2 separate regions of the Homo sapiens genome follow, and region 1 is linked to region 2. Evidence: promoter capture Hi-C in 16 types of primary human blood cells and fetal thymus (Javierre and others, 2016). All regions are on one chromosome and are shown on one strand. Each heading gives the region's core, a stretch centred on a gene start or on the middle of the fragment in contact. The rest is flanking DNA. Distances are from core to core; before and after follow the strand shown.

Region 1 (6,411 bases), core at 2,870-5,369, 1.3 Mb after region 2:
TTCTCTTTCATTTGTTCTGCAGTAATTTACCTTATTTAAGCTTCAGGGAGGTTTGCCTTCTGGCTTTACCATGTACAAGAACTGACTGTTACTCTCTGCCTGTTTTGTACAGGAGCACAAAAATGAGGCAGCAAACGCATTACTTTTCTTTATGCTGATGCTCTGGAAAATATTATGCCCTAAAGAGGGAGGTTAACTGTCCTCCTTGCCCTTACCACTATAAACCAGACAGAAATTTAAAATATGGAAACAGTGTTTTTTATTCTGTGTCAGGGTTTTAAACTTGGTCAACCTCCCGGAACTGTATGCCTATTTTATACTTTAATCGGTTTATGTACATGTTCATTTTTCTGGAAAGGATCTATATTTTTATTAGGTCCTTAGAGAAGTCAGAGATCCCAAAAAAGTGCCCTGGGCTTTGTATCCTGCTTTACTTCTCCTTGTAAGTGATCAAATCCACAAGGCTGATTGTGTTCTTTCTCTAAATCACTTTGTGTTATGACTTCAGGATGCATCTTGAACTTTGTTTTCAAGTGAACTTTGTAAACAAGTCCTCAGCTTAAAAGACATTTTGAACTATATTAATAATAAATGCATCATAAAATTTCCTGTTTGATAAAGGAGGCATCTGAGATAATTATGCAATGCACTTAGCTACTCACATTTTAGTTATTCTTATTAATATCATTGATATTTATTATTTTTCAATGCTTCTCTGAAAGACCTGAGTATGGCCACTCTGGCTTTAAGAACTGTGTCCACAGTGCTAGCTGAGAAACCACTACCACATATTTTTTTAAACTCCAAACTTTACTAAGAATCAGGCTTGGATATAGGGCCTAAAAATCATTCAATTGGAATGTGAAGAAGTTGAAACACCATTACGCAAAAACCCTTTAGCATATGTGTATGTGTGTCTCCCTAATGTCAGGATGTACACATTTATTACAGTGGTTTGGAGGTTTATTTGTAATCTGACCTTTTGAAATTCTGGAGCACACAAAAAAAGTAGATCTTCATTAACAAGGATTTTTTTTTCTTTTTCTTTTCTCTTTTCTTGCCAGAAATTTAAAGATGTTTCTTCCTTCACTTCCTTCCTTCCTTGTACTGTCCTTGCTCAACGTGAATCTACAATCACTGCCACTTGAATGGATGCAACTTATGTTAATAAATTGCCAGGATCAGAACTCCCACTGCAGCATTTCCTTCTCCATAGAACCACTGAACCAGAAATGCATTCTAGTGATTTTTTTTTGTCGTTAACGATGATTAATTAAACAAACTCGAGATTTCACGAGAAAAAACATAGATGCCCAGATTTAACAAACTCCTTATCTTTTTTCGACTTAAACCCACGAAGCTTTGGGGAGCACTCTAGCCCCTGCTACTCACCCATGCAAGCGGGGTGCGCGCTCGCGCACACACTCACTCACTCCAAGATAGGGGCTTTCTAGGAAAATACTTTGAGCTGCCAATCCAAGATTTTACTTAAAGAATTGACTTGGTTCTCAAGTGACAGATCTCTAAGTGCCAGAGCGGCAAAGTGCACCAGGCTGATAAAGTGCATGCCAAGACTCTCAGGTGGGAATTCTTGTCACAGCCAAGAGGTTGCTGGCATAGGCACCCGAGGCTGGCAGAGCCTAGCCTCTGAGTCTCCCTACACTCCTGGGCTTGCTTTCCTTTTTGAAGCTGCCTGCAGCTCAAAGAGGAGTTTGAACCAAGGGCACTTGCTTCGCGATCCTCCTGGCAGAGCCACAGCTCAAGTTTCCCCCACGGAATCACGAGCTTTTGTAAAGGGCAGCGAGGAGGCAGCGAGGTGGCAGCGAGGTACAGTCGCAGAGTTCTCTGGAGAACGAACACCCCCGCCGCGCCCCACCCCCCAGGACTGGTGGAGACTGGAAGGAACGAGTCCAGACCACGGGACCTTCCCTGGCCGTGGGCCGACGCCTAGCTGTCCTTGACCTCCCCAGCAGTCGGAGGCGCGCGCGGGAGAAATGAAAGTAAAACCTGTCCTGGCGCGGAACCAAGTGGAAGCTGGCGACAAGTAGGTCGCATCCTCAGAGCGACTGATAGCCAGTCCTGGATCTGCGCGAAGAGCTTGACTCGCAGAGGATAAAGTGAAAGGAAAAGGAAATGGGAGACAAGGGAGAAGAACAATAGTTAGGCTGGGGAGGCTCCTGGTCACCGAGCAGGCGTTCAGTAATAGCTGCTGTCTGCGGTGCAGACGGACTAGTCGCCCGGCCAGGCCACTTCGGTGACTGCCCTGCGCCCAGCCGGGCGGCCGGATCCAGACCAGTGCGCCGCGCTGCACTCCTCTAACCCTCCGCGTCCCAACCCCTTACCAGGGCCAGGGTCAGGGCCCGGAATCTGTCCTCCGTCCTCAGATGGAATTCAGGTCCGCTCAGGTGACTCCTTCCAGGAAGAGTCCTTAAATAACTTCCGCGCGGCCATTTCTTCCCCAGGTGCAATGTCCACTGTTGAGTCCCGAGAGTGAAAAGGCAGCTAAGCCAGCAGTGCGCGGCCCAGACAGACCACTCTGGGCAAGGTCCGCGCGACCCACTGCCCAGCCGCCTTTGCACCGGAGCTCAGAGCCATATGGCAGAGTAGGAAGGAAGCTTAAAGGTCTGCTGGGGACCGGCTCTAAGATGGGGACTCGAGAGATGGGACATGACTCGCCCACCTTCACACAGCGAATTGCCGGGAGGTGAGGACTAGAAGCCTGTTTGGCTAGTGGTCTCGCACCTTTGGCCTCTCCGTCGAGTCGCTGGGCTTCAGGACATTCGATTAGAGGAGTGGTTAGTAGGACCCCAGAAACCCACAAGCACGAAGCAGGAAGCCCCGTGGCTTAGCCTTTCCTTCCCAGTTTGGCCCCCAGGAGAGAAGTAAGAAAGAGAAGAAGCTGTGATGAAAGAGCACAAACGGGTGACAAACGTGTCTAGCGTGATTCATCATGAACAGGCACAAATTCTTTGGGCGGGGGCTAGGACTCTCCTTTGCCCCTTGAGAAGTTGGTGACCCCAGCCTAGAGGAATCCACGCCGCGCCCCAGTCGGCCGTGCTAGCGTGTCGGGCCGAGTAGGGACTCTGCTGCTTCCTACCTGCAGGGTGACTTCCCCTCTCTGCAGATACCTCCCCTCTCTGAGCTTGAATTTTCTACCTGCTGAAATGGGAAAAGGAATGTTACCTTCCTTGCCTGACTCAAGGGTGGCTGTGAAGCTCAAAGTAGACTGGGATGTGGCCGTGCTTGGTAAACTGTAAAATGATTAGCATACGTGAAGCGTTAGTGTGCTCCCTGGCAGTCAGTCCTCACGTTTACGATGGATTAATGAAGGCAGCCAGGCACAATCTCAGGTTATGACCTTATAAGGCATAATAGGATTACAAGGAGGCAAAATGAAACAGTATATTTCCTCCTAATTTTGGTTATTCCTATGTTTCCAAATAGAAATGAAAATTCTGAAATTTCAGATAATTCCCCCCTCCAAATCCCAATTCTCAATTTAGCTTTTCTGAGCCTTGTCCCTACCGTGAAATCTTACTAGCTCACCCCGAAACGCCGGGGTCTTGGTCCTCTGGGGGACTAGTGAGTCCTGCTCCTCTCGGCTTTGCTCCGTCCCTGCCCCGGCCCCTCCGCGGGAGTCTGGGGTCGCGGCCCGGTCAGGCGCCAAGCCGGCAGGGGGGCGCGGTCCACTTGAGGCCACAGCTCCCCAGGTCCAGGGCTCGGGCCATCCGCGCTGTCCCTTCCGCGGGCTCTTGCTGTTCTTCGCCAGGAGGCTTTGCACTCCGGGCCGCATGGGTCCTGGATAAGGACCTCAAGAGGTTGTAGTGGCGCCCCTTCGCTCCGGCGTACTGTCTGAACCCTGTGCCCAAAGAGGGCTGTGGCAGTTCCTGCACCAACCGCCTGGAGCCCATACCTAAGCCCTCTGGGCACGAGGGACCTCCTCTCCCCCGCTCCCCCCTCCCCCCATCCCAACTCCAGCCCCAAAGGAAGCAATGCGCGCGTCCGAGAGCAGGAGCGCGCGTGGCTGAGGAAAGAAAGGGAAGGCAACCGGGCAGCCCAGGCCCCGCCCCGCCGCTCCCCCACCCGTGCGCTTATAAAGCACAGGAACCAGAGCTGGCCACTCAGTGGTTTCTTGGTGACACTGGATAGAACAGCTCAAGCCTTGCCACTTCGGGCTTCTCACTGCAGCTGGGCTTGGACTTCGGAGTTTTGCCATTGCCAGTGGGACGTCTGAGACTTTCTCCTTCAAGTACTTGGCAGATCACTCTCTTAGCAGGTAGGTGCCGCAGACCCTGCGGGTTAAGAGGTGGGGTGGGGGGCAGTGCTTGCCAAGGCCCTAAACTGGGAGCGCTGGGTGAGGGGAACAACCCACTTTGGAGGGTTCTCTGAGAGATAGATACACCCCATATCCTGGGCCCAGCTCGTGCACACAGCTGGAGGTCCAGAGACCCAGTCCCCTCTGCTCCGTCAGCCAAGTTCCAAGAAGTTGAGCAGAGACCCTCTGGGAGCCTGGCGGGGTGCAGCGGCCTCCCCTGCGGGGCCTGTCACCCGGCCGGCGCGTGCAAACGCCTCTGGCGCCTCTCTGCGCGGAGGGAGATAAGCGTCTGAGCCAGGGAAAGCGCGGGCTAAACCCGCCTCGCCGGGGCCCCTGCCCGCCCTCCGTGCCCCGCCCGGGCGGTGCAGCTGGCCCGGGTGCTCACGCTCGACTCTCTTTCTTCTTTTCCAGGGTCTGCGCTTCGCAGCCGGGATGAAGCTGGTTTCCGTCGCCCTGATGTACCTGGGTTCGCTCGCCTTCCTAGGCGCTGACACCGCTCGGTTGGATGTCGCGTCGGAGTTTCGAAAGAAGTGAGTCCGGGCAGCGCCTTCCCCCTTGCTGGTACCTGGCAGGCAAGGGGAACTGACCGTTGGTCCCGAAGGTCTAGAAGTGAATGGGAGCAGGGACAGGCCTGGGCGTCACCTGAACGCACGCGAATCGGGTCTGCTTGTGTTTTCCAGGTGGAATAAGTGGGCTCTGAGTCGTGGGAAGAGGGAACTGCGGATGTCCAGCAGCTACCCCACCGGGCTCGCTGACGTGAAGGCCGGGCCTGCCCAGACCCTTATTCGGCCCCAGGACATGAAGGGTGCCTCTCGAAGCCCCGAAGACAGGTAACTACGCCCTGTGCTGTCCAGGGACGGGAGGGAAGGAAGGTGTGCGGGAGGAGTTCTCTGTCTCCACTCCCCTGGCCCGGGGGATCGTCGGGGCTGGACCGCAGCTCAGATGGCGCGAGCAGTTTCCAGCTCCCTCTGGCTCTAGAATGGCTCCCGTTCCCGGTGTTGGGGCCAAAGCTCTGCTTGATGGGGTCTCAAGTTGCCTTTCTTCCCCCTCCCCCCGCCCGCAGCAGTCCGGATGCCGCCCGCATCCGAGTCAAGCGCTACCGCCAGAGCATGAACAACTTCCAGGGCCTCCGGAGCTTTGGCTGCCGCTTCGGGACGTGCACGGTGCAGAAGCTGGCACACCAGATCTACCAGTTCACAGATAAGGACAAGGACAACGTCGCCCCCAGGAGCAAGATCAGCCCCCAGGGCTACGGCCGCCGGCGCCGGCGCTCCCTGCCCGAGGCCGGCCCGGGTCGGACTCTGGTGTCTTCTAAGCCACAAGCACACGGGGCTCCAGCCCCCCCGAGTGGAAGTGCTCCCCACTTTCTTTAGGATTTAGGCGCCCATGGTACAAGGAATAGTCGCGCAAGCATCCCGCTGGTGCCTCCCGGGACGAAGGACTTCCCGAGCGGTGTGGGGACCGGGCTCTGACAGCCCTGCGGAGACCCTGAGTCCGGGAGGCACCGTCCGGCGGCGAGCTCTGGCTTTGCAAGGGCCCCTCCTTCTGGGGGCTTCGCTTCCTTAGCCTTGCTCAGGTGCAAGTGCCCCAGGGGGCGGGGTGCAGAAGAATCCGAGTGTTTGCCAGGCTTAAGGAGAGGAGAAACTGAGAAATGAATGCTGAGACCCCCGGAGCAGGGGTCTGAGCCACAGCCGTGCTCGCCCACAAACTGATTTCTCACGGCGTGTCACCCCACCAGGGCGCAAGCCTCACTATTACTTGAACTTTCCAAAACCTAAAGAGGAAAAGTGCAATGCGTGTTGTACATACAGAGGTAACTATCAATATTTAAGTTTGTTGCTGTCAAGATTTTTTTTGTAACTTCAAATATAGAGATATTTTTGTACGTTATATATTGTATTAAGGGCATTTTAAAAGCAATTATATTGTCCTCCCCTATTTTAAGACGTGAATGTCTCAGCGAGGTGTAAAGTTGTTCGCCGCGTGGAATGTGAGTGTGTTTGTGTGCATGAAAGAGAAAGACTGATTACCTCCTGTGTGGAAGAAGGAAACACCGAGTCTCTGTATAATCTATTTACATAAAATGGGTGATATGC
Region 2 (5,860 bases), core at 2,317-4,816:
GGTAAGTTTGCTTTACTGTGTTCAACCATCTTTCCCCCAGCATCATTCCTAATTCTAGTCAGTTTTGAAAAAGCATTTAGCTATGATCAGAAGCAATCATATGTAGGAAAGAAAAACTCTATTGCCAGACAAGTAAGAATATGGCCTAATGCCTACAGGTAAGTATAATATCATTTAGGAAAGACAGCATATTACCACATAACATGACTGTTTTTAAAAATTAAAAAGTCCTTAGCACAATGAGAAAAACTTTTATGAACCTGGTAGCTAAAACAAGATAAATTACAATAGGCAAATTTCCAAGAACGGAGATGTTTTTCTCCAGCTTCACTGAGTTAAAAAAAAAAATCAGGGCTGGGTGTGGTAGCTCATGTTTGTAATCCCAGCACTTTGGGAGGCTAAAGTGGGCAGATCGCTTGAGACCAGGAGTTCAAGACCAGCCTGGGCAATATGGCAAAATCCCATCTCTACAAAAAATACAAAAGTTAGATTGGTGTTGTGGTGTGCACCTGTAATCCTAGCTACTCAGGAGGTTGAGGTGGGAGGATCTCTTGAGCCTGCGAGGTCGAGGCTGCAGTAAGATGTGACTGCAGCTGCATTCCAGCCTGGGCAATAGAGTGAGAACCCGTCTCTTAAAAAAAAAATCAAATATAATATTACTCACTCATATCTCTGGTTTTAGTTCTTAATCTAATACAGAATGAACAATACAAGATAAAAGGATAAAAGCAAAAGGGGCAGACAAAAATATAATTTCCACAGAAGACTTTGTATCAGCCAACTCCAGATACACAGGAATAGGCAAAGGCACTTTCCTGGGGCCAAGAGAACATGACCCCCTTTGATTTCCTATGGTTGCCTTCTGCCAGTCCTAAAAGAGCTGGCAGGCTGGTATCAAGCAGTGAACATTACAGAAACAGCATAGTAAGAGGTAGATAATTCAGAAATCCCAGCGGTATATTCAAATATAGGTTGCTGGTATGAGGAAAAACAACCTACAATCTTCACAAACCCAAAAGTCAATAACAACTAATTTCTCCTCTCTCTTCCTTATCTCCCTCTGATGCTATCCTCTCCCTTTTCTTGGACTCCTTCTATCGAGATTATACTATAAACTACTCCAAGTAAGAACTATTCAATTAATTTTAACATCCTCCAAATTTCCCTTGCAGTGAGAGAAAATTGAGTCAACACTGGTCTATCCCACATGTATTTATAAAGTAAAAGAATAATAATGTACTTCTAAGGTCACTTCTAAGATTGTACTAAGGCTGCAACAACAGTTCCAAGAGAGTTTAAGCATGCTGCCTCACCCCAGCGCTTGCGGCTCTCCTAGCCCTACCTCGGTCTGCCTTGGTTTCTGTAACCTGGCTGTTCTGTGCAATCACTTGTACATTATAGGTGTGAAAACAGTGAGAGAGGGAAATCAACTCCATGACGGTGGGGCACAGAAAGCGTGAACCATGATTCAGAGCCTTACAGTCAACTGTCATGTGTATGTGTCATACTCAAGGCAATATCCTGCTTCTTGAGGCTCCTTCCTCTTTGCAGCCTGCTGCCTGTGCTGTATGCTATCAGCCCTTTGTGACTCAACTGAGACAGACTAGAGTCAGAAAAGCGGATGGAATTCTTACACAGCATGAAGTAGTATAAGAAATCCTAGGCAGAAGGAAGTTCAGGTAGCTCTCAGGGCTAGGAAACTCCTCGACAACGAGGGACAACCAAATCCAGCATTTAAAAACTCTGTATTTTAATTCTTCTCTTAATATAATACTTCCTTCTTTATTGATTGCTGAGCATTCTAGGAACTAGGATAGGATTATTTGGCCTGAAGGAAAGAATACTTCTCGAACCTGATTTGTTAAATGAATCGAGATTGCTTTAAAGTGAAAGAAGGGAAAAGAGAGTTATCTCTTTTGCAGGAGCACATTTCAATCACTTATCACTCTGGGTTAGCATAAATCAGATAAACTATCCTGTGGGTTGTGCAAAAAGCAAAACAAAACAAAAAAACACAACTTGTAAAAAAAACAGAGCAAGATAACTGAAGTAGACAAACTCTGCACAGAAGTAACTAATGGCAGGGAGGAGAAAAATTTTTGTATATTATATTATACTGTGTATAATATAATGTACCTGTGTATCATTAGAGCTGTTAAATTAAAAAAAAAAAAAAAAAAAAAAGGAAATGGATGCAGAAGCTCTGCCCTCCTGGGGCCAGAAATGGCAATTTCAGTGAACTAGGGCCGACAACCACATCCAAAATTAAATATTTCAAAAGCTTAAAATAAAAAATACTAGAAAAATTATGCAGAGCACCTATTTCATTTGTTAAAAGACATTTAATTAGTGTTTCACATATTACCACCCAAATGAATAAAGCGATTGTGAAATTCAAGAAAACAATCAAACTACAAGAAAACTCCAGATAAAACTACAAAGTTAAACATAAACTTGGCCCAGGACCACTACAGTGGCTGAGGGATGACAAATACAGTTCTTTATATTGGTAACCCTTAGCCATCCATCCCATTCTATAGAAAGAGGACAGTACCATCTTTGACCCCAGGCCCCCTGTCCTGAGGTGCTTCTACTTAATGCCAGGAACAACTGTGCTAGAAAAAAAGACTGCACCCACCCCAGCTCCAGATGCACACATTAGCTGGTCGGTGAGATGCAGCAGCCTGGCTTCCTCCCTCTACCCACTCCTTGGGGGCGGGGCTGGAAGAGGAGAATGATGAAGAGATGTTGGGGGTTCAGGAAACCTTCACATTTGGCCCCTTTTCTCTCTCCCCACTCAGGATGGAAGGTCAAAGTTAGGACCAAAACTAGAGAAGTGGGTTTTGCATAGGGGGACAATGGATTCAACAGAAGTCCTCTGGATCTGGCAACTGTCAAAAAACCCTCTTTCCACTTCTTTCCCCCTCACGGAAAGCCATTAGGAATCACCTCTGTCTGGGTCATAGGAACAGCCACACAGCATAGGAGGCACAAGCCCCGTGAACAAAATTCGGTATTAAGAATAAGGAAAAAGAAAGAAGACCCGAGGGCAAGAGGGCAGGGCAGGACCTCTTCTTTCTACTGGAGAAGAGACATCCAGGGAGGAGGCACAGCCGAGGGGAGCGCAAGCTAGAAAAGCTACGACGGAATCCCCACCGAAACCGCAGCAGGGGTACTGGAAGGGGAGGAATCCGCGACGCAGCGACCGCGAGCCAAGGGCAGCGGCGGGCCGGGCCGTGACTCAGTGAAAGCCGCAACGGCCGGGCCTCGGAAAACGGCGGGCGCGAAGCCGCCGGGGCCGGGGCGAGAACGGCGGCGGGGGCTCACCATGTCCTTGGACGAGCCCAGCTTCTTGAGGCCGTCCAGGGGCAGCAGGTCGGCGGAGTCCTTGTGGATGAACTGCACCGCCTGCTTCATCCGGCGCTGCTGTCGCAGTGACGCCGCCTCCCGCATGTCGGTCTCCTTGCGGCCGCCCTCAGTGAGGAGCCCTGAGTAAAACATCGCTGAGGCGCCGGCGGCCCGGTAGCCCACAGCCCCCCGGCAGCCTCAGCCTCGAGCTCCTCCAGCGCCGCAAGGGCCCCGAGCCGCGCCTTTTATAGCCGAGCGTGACGTCGCGGGGAGCAGCCAGTGCGCGCGCGGGGGGCGGGGCCGGCACAGAGTCCACGCCCCGCGCGGCTCCCTCGCGTCCCGCGTCCCGCGTCCCGCGTCCCCTGCTCACCCGGTGGCAAAGCCGGCGAGGAGGCGGCGGCGCTGGTGGGGACTGACCCGGCAGTCCGAGAATCCACCGCGGCCTTTTCACCCAACCGCCCCCTCCTGCGTGGGGGCCCCGCATCCCCTGGACTGGCGTGGGCTCTGGGGCCCGATGCCCTGGCAGCCCCGGCCATCTCTGCCGCTGGCCGCGGGTACCTGCTCACCTGTCCACGCCGTGGCCGACCCGGGGATCACCGACAGCCGGGCCATGCCTCGAGTCCCGCCGCCCGCGCCGCTGCTCGGCTTCTCAGAAACGCACCTCCACGCCGCCAGCCGGGGCTCCAGGGTCCACCGCCCGGGCCCGGAGGACTGGCGACTCCCTCCGAGGTTGGGAGCGCTCCGGATTTCTCCAACTTCAGGTCGGTCCCCACCCACCGGGCCACGTGACTGGGGAGGGGGCAGCCGGTGCAGGCGTGTGGAGGAGGCTTTCGGGACCTCCTCCCCCGGGCACCCTCTGCCTGCAGCCCGGCACCCGGCCCGCGTTTCCGAGCCGGGGGAGCAGGTGCAGTCGGAAGCCCGCGGGTGGGCGTGGGGCGGGGGAGTGGCGAGGGTCCCCCGCCTCCGCGGGAGCGCACGCGGCTGCGAGCCCTACACCTGCTCTCCGACCAAAGAAGCACCTGTTTTTCTCAATAAGTGCTAGGGCTTACCATCTAAAGGATCGTTCACCATCCCTCCAGCGTCCTTAGTAGGAGCGATTGGAACCCGTTTTTCTTCCTGAATAATCCATACTTTTAAGCCATTCTAATCGGGCCTTCAGGCATCCTGGATTCTGGTCTCGACATTGTGATTTGACACAAATCACGTTTTCACTCTGGAAACCACAACTACTCCCTCCACCCCATCACGCAGGAGCAGACCTGGATAAGAAATATGTGCACTCTGCAAAGAACCAATGATAAAAGTAACAATATCGACGCTTACTGAGCCTTTACTATGTGCCAGGTACTAGACTAGACACTTAAAATGCAGTATCTCATTGGATCCTGGCAACAGCTTGTAAGATAGTATTCTCATCACCCCCATTTTACAGGCAAATACCTGATACCTTCTGTCTGGCCTCCTGAATGCTCCTTGGTTCCATTCCAATACGTTGTTCACTGTGCTGCCAGAGTAATCTTCTCAAACGATAAGTGTGATCATCTCACTTCCCTGCTAAGAGCACCTCAAAAGGCTTCCTATTGCTCTTAGGAGAAACCCACATTCTTGCATGGTCTGCCTAGACCCTGCATATTCACTCTGTACTTCAGCCTCATGGGCCTTCTTCCAGTTCCTTCCAGTCACCTGTTGCCAAATGGCCTGCCTTTGACTGTCCTGTTCCCTCTGTGTGCAGTGCCCCCTCCTACCCTCTTCAGGAAACTCCTATGCTTCTTCCAGACCTCAGCTCCATTATCATTTCTTTAGGAAAGCCTTCTCTGACCTTCCAGAGAGAGTGAAGTCTCTCTAATTATATACTATCTATCTCTTGGGCATTTGACACTTTCTGTGGGGGTAGGGGTAGGGGGGTACTGGTTGTTGGATTAATATTTGTCTCCTCCACTGATTGGAACCTCCAGGAAGGTGACTGAACCCATTTTTTGCTTAGCATTGATGCCCTAATATGCAGAGGGTTCTCAAATACTAGTGAAAGGATGGCAAAAAGTTAAGGTCGTACCAAAGAAATCAAGTGGTAAAGCTGGCATTTACTCCCAGAACCTGTGCTGGACTACCTAGACCTGGAGAGACTGGGTTTGGCCTCATGAAGCTGCTTCTTTTACTCTGTTCTGCCTTCAACACTTGCCCCAGTTTCAAAGACTGTTTGTGGGAAAACAAATACAGAAGGCTGCTCACTTGGCTTCAAGGAAGCCCCAGGGCTGGATTCCTCCCTGTGTGCCCATCCCCTACTTTCCCCTACACACGGAGGACAGAGTCTCTAGGAGACAGGTGGGATTGCTGTTCACCTTCCAGTCCCCTGGCACACTTCCAGCAGTGAACAACAGTGGCTGCCCTGGCCCCTTCTGTCCCATCACCTGGATCCCTGCCTGATCACTCCTCCAGGTGCAGATCACCCAGGGAACAGTGAAAGTCAGCTTTGCCTTGTCCGTCTAGGAGAGGTGCCTCTGAGTTTGGCAAA

Evidence for each region. The method cuts DNA at HindIII sites, captures the fragments that hold promoters and counts their contacts. A CHiCAGO score of 5 or more calls a contact.
Region 1: a contact is called between the fragment with the promoter of ADM here and the fragment with the promoter of NRIP3 in region 2, in 2 of 17 cell types (fetal thymus and non-activated CD4 T cells). The highest score is 7.7, in fetal thymus.

What each region holds. Positions count from the first base shown.
Region 1 is chr11:10,300,954-10,307,364 of GRCh38, forward strand. ADM (adrenomedullin) reads left to right here and starts at 4,120. Exons shown (of 4, transcript NM_001124.3): 1 at 4,120-4,276; 2 at 4,727-4,845; 3 at 4,996-5,145; 4 at 5,379-6,411. The coding sequence starts at 4,748. The coding sequence ends at 5,688. It also overlaps a transcript of SBF2 not described here. RefSeq lists enhancers at 1,828-1,907, 1,928-2,107 and silencers at 3,032-3,091, 3,582-3,681, 3,862-3,911, 4,592-4,641, 4,662-4,711 and 2 more. The HindIII fragment of the contact is 5,037 bases long and covers 2,614-6,411 here.
Region 2 is chr11:9,000,435-9,006,294 of GRCh38, forward strand. NRIP3 (nuclear receptor interacting protein 3) reads right to left here and starts at 3,567. Exons shown (of 7, transcript NM_020645.3): 1 at 3,328-3,567. The coding sequence starts at 3,501. NRIP3-DT (NRIP3 divergent transcript) reads left to right here and starts at 3,654. Exons shown (of 3, transcript NR_183663.1): 1 at 3,654-4,109. RefSeq lists an enhancer at 2,744-3,663. The HindIII fragment of the contact is 8,665 bases long and covers 2,280-5,860 here.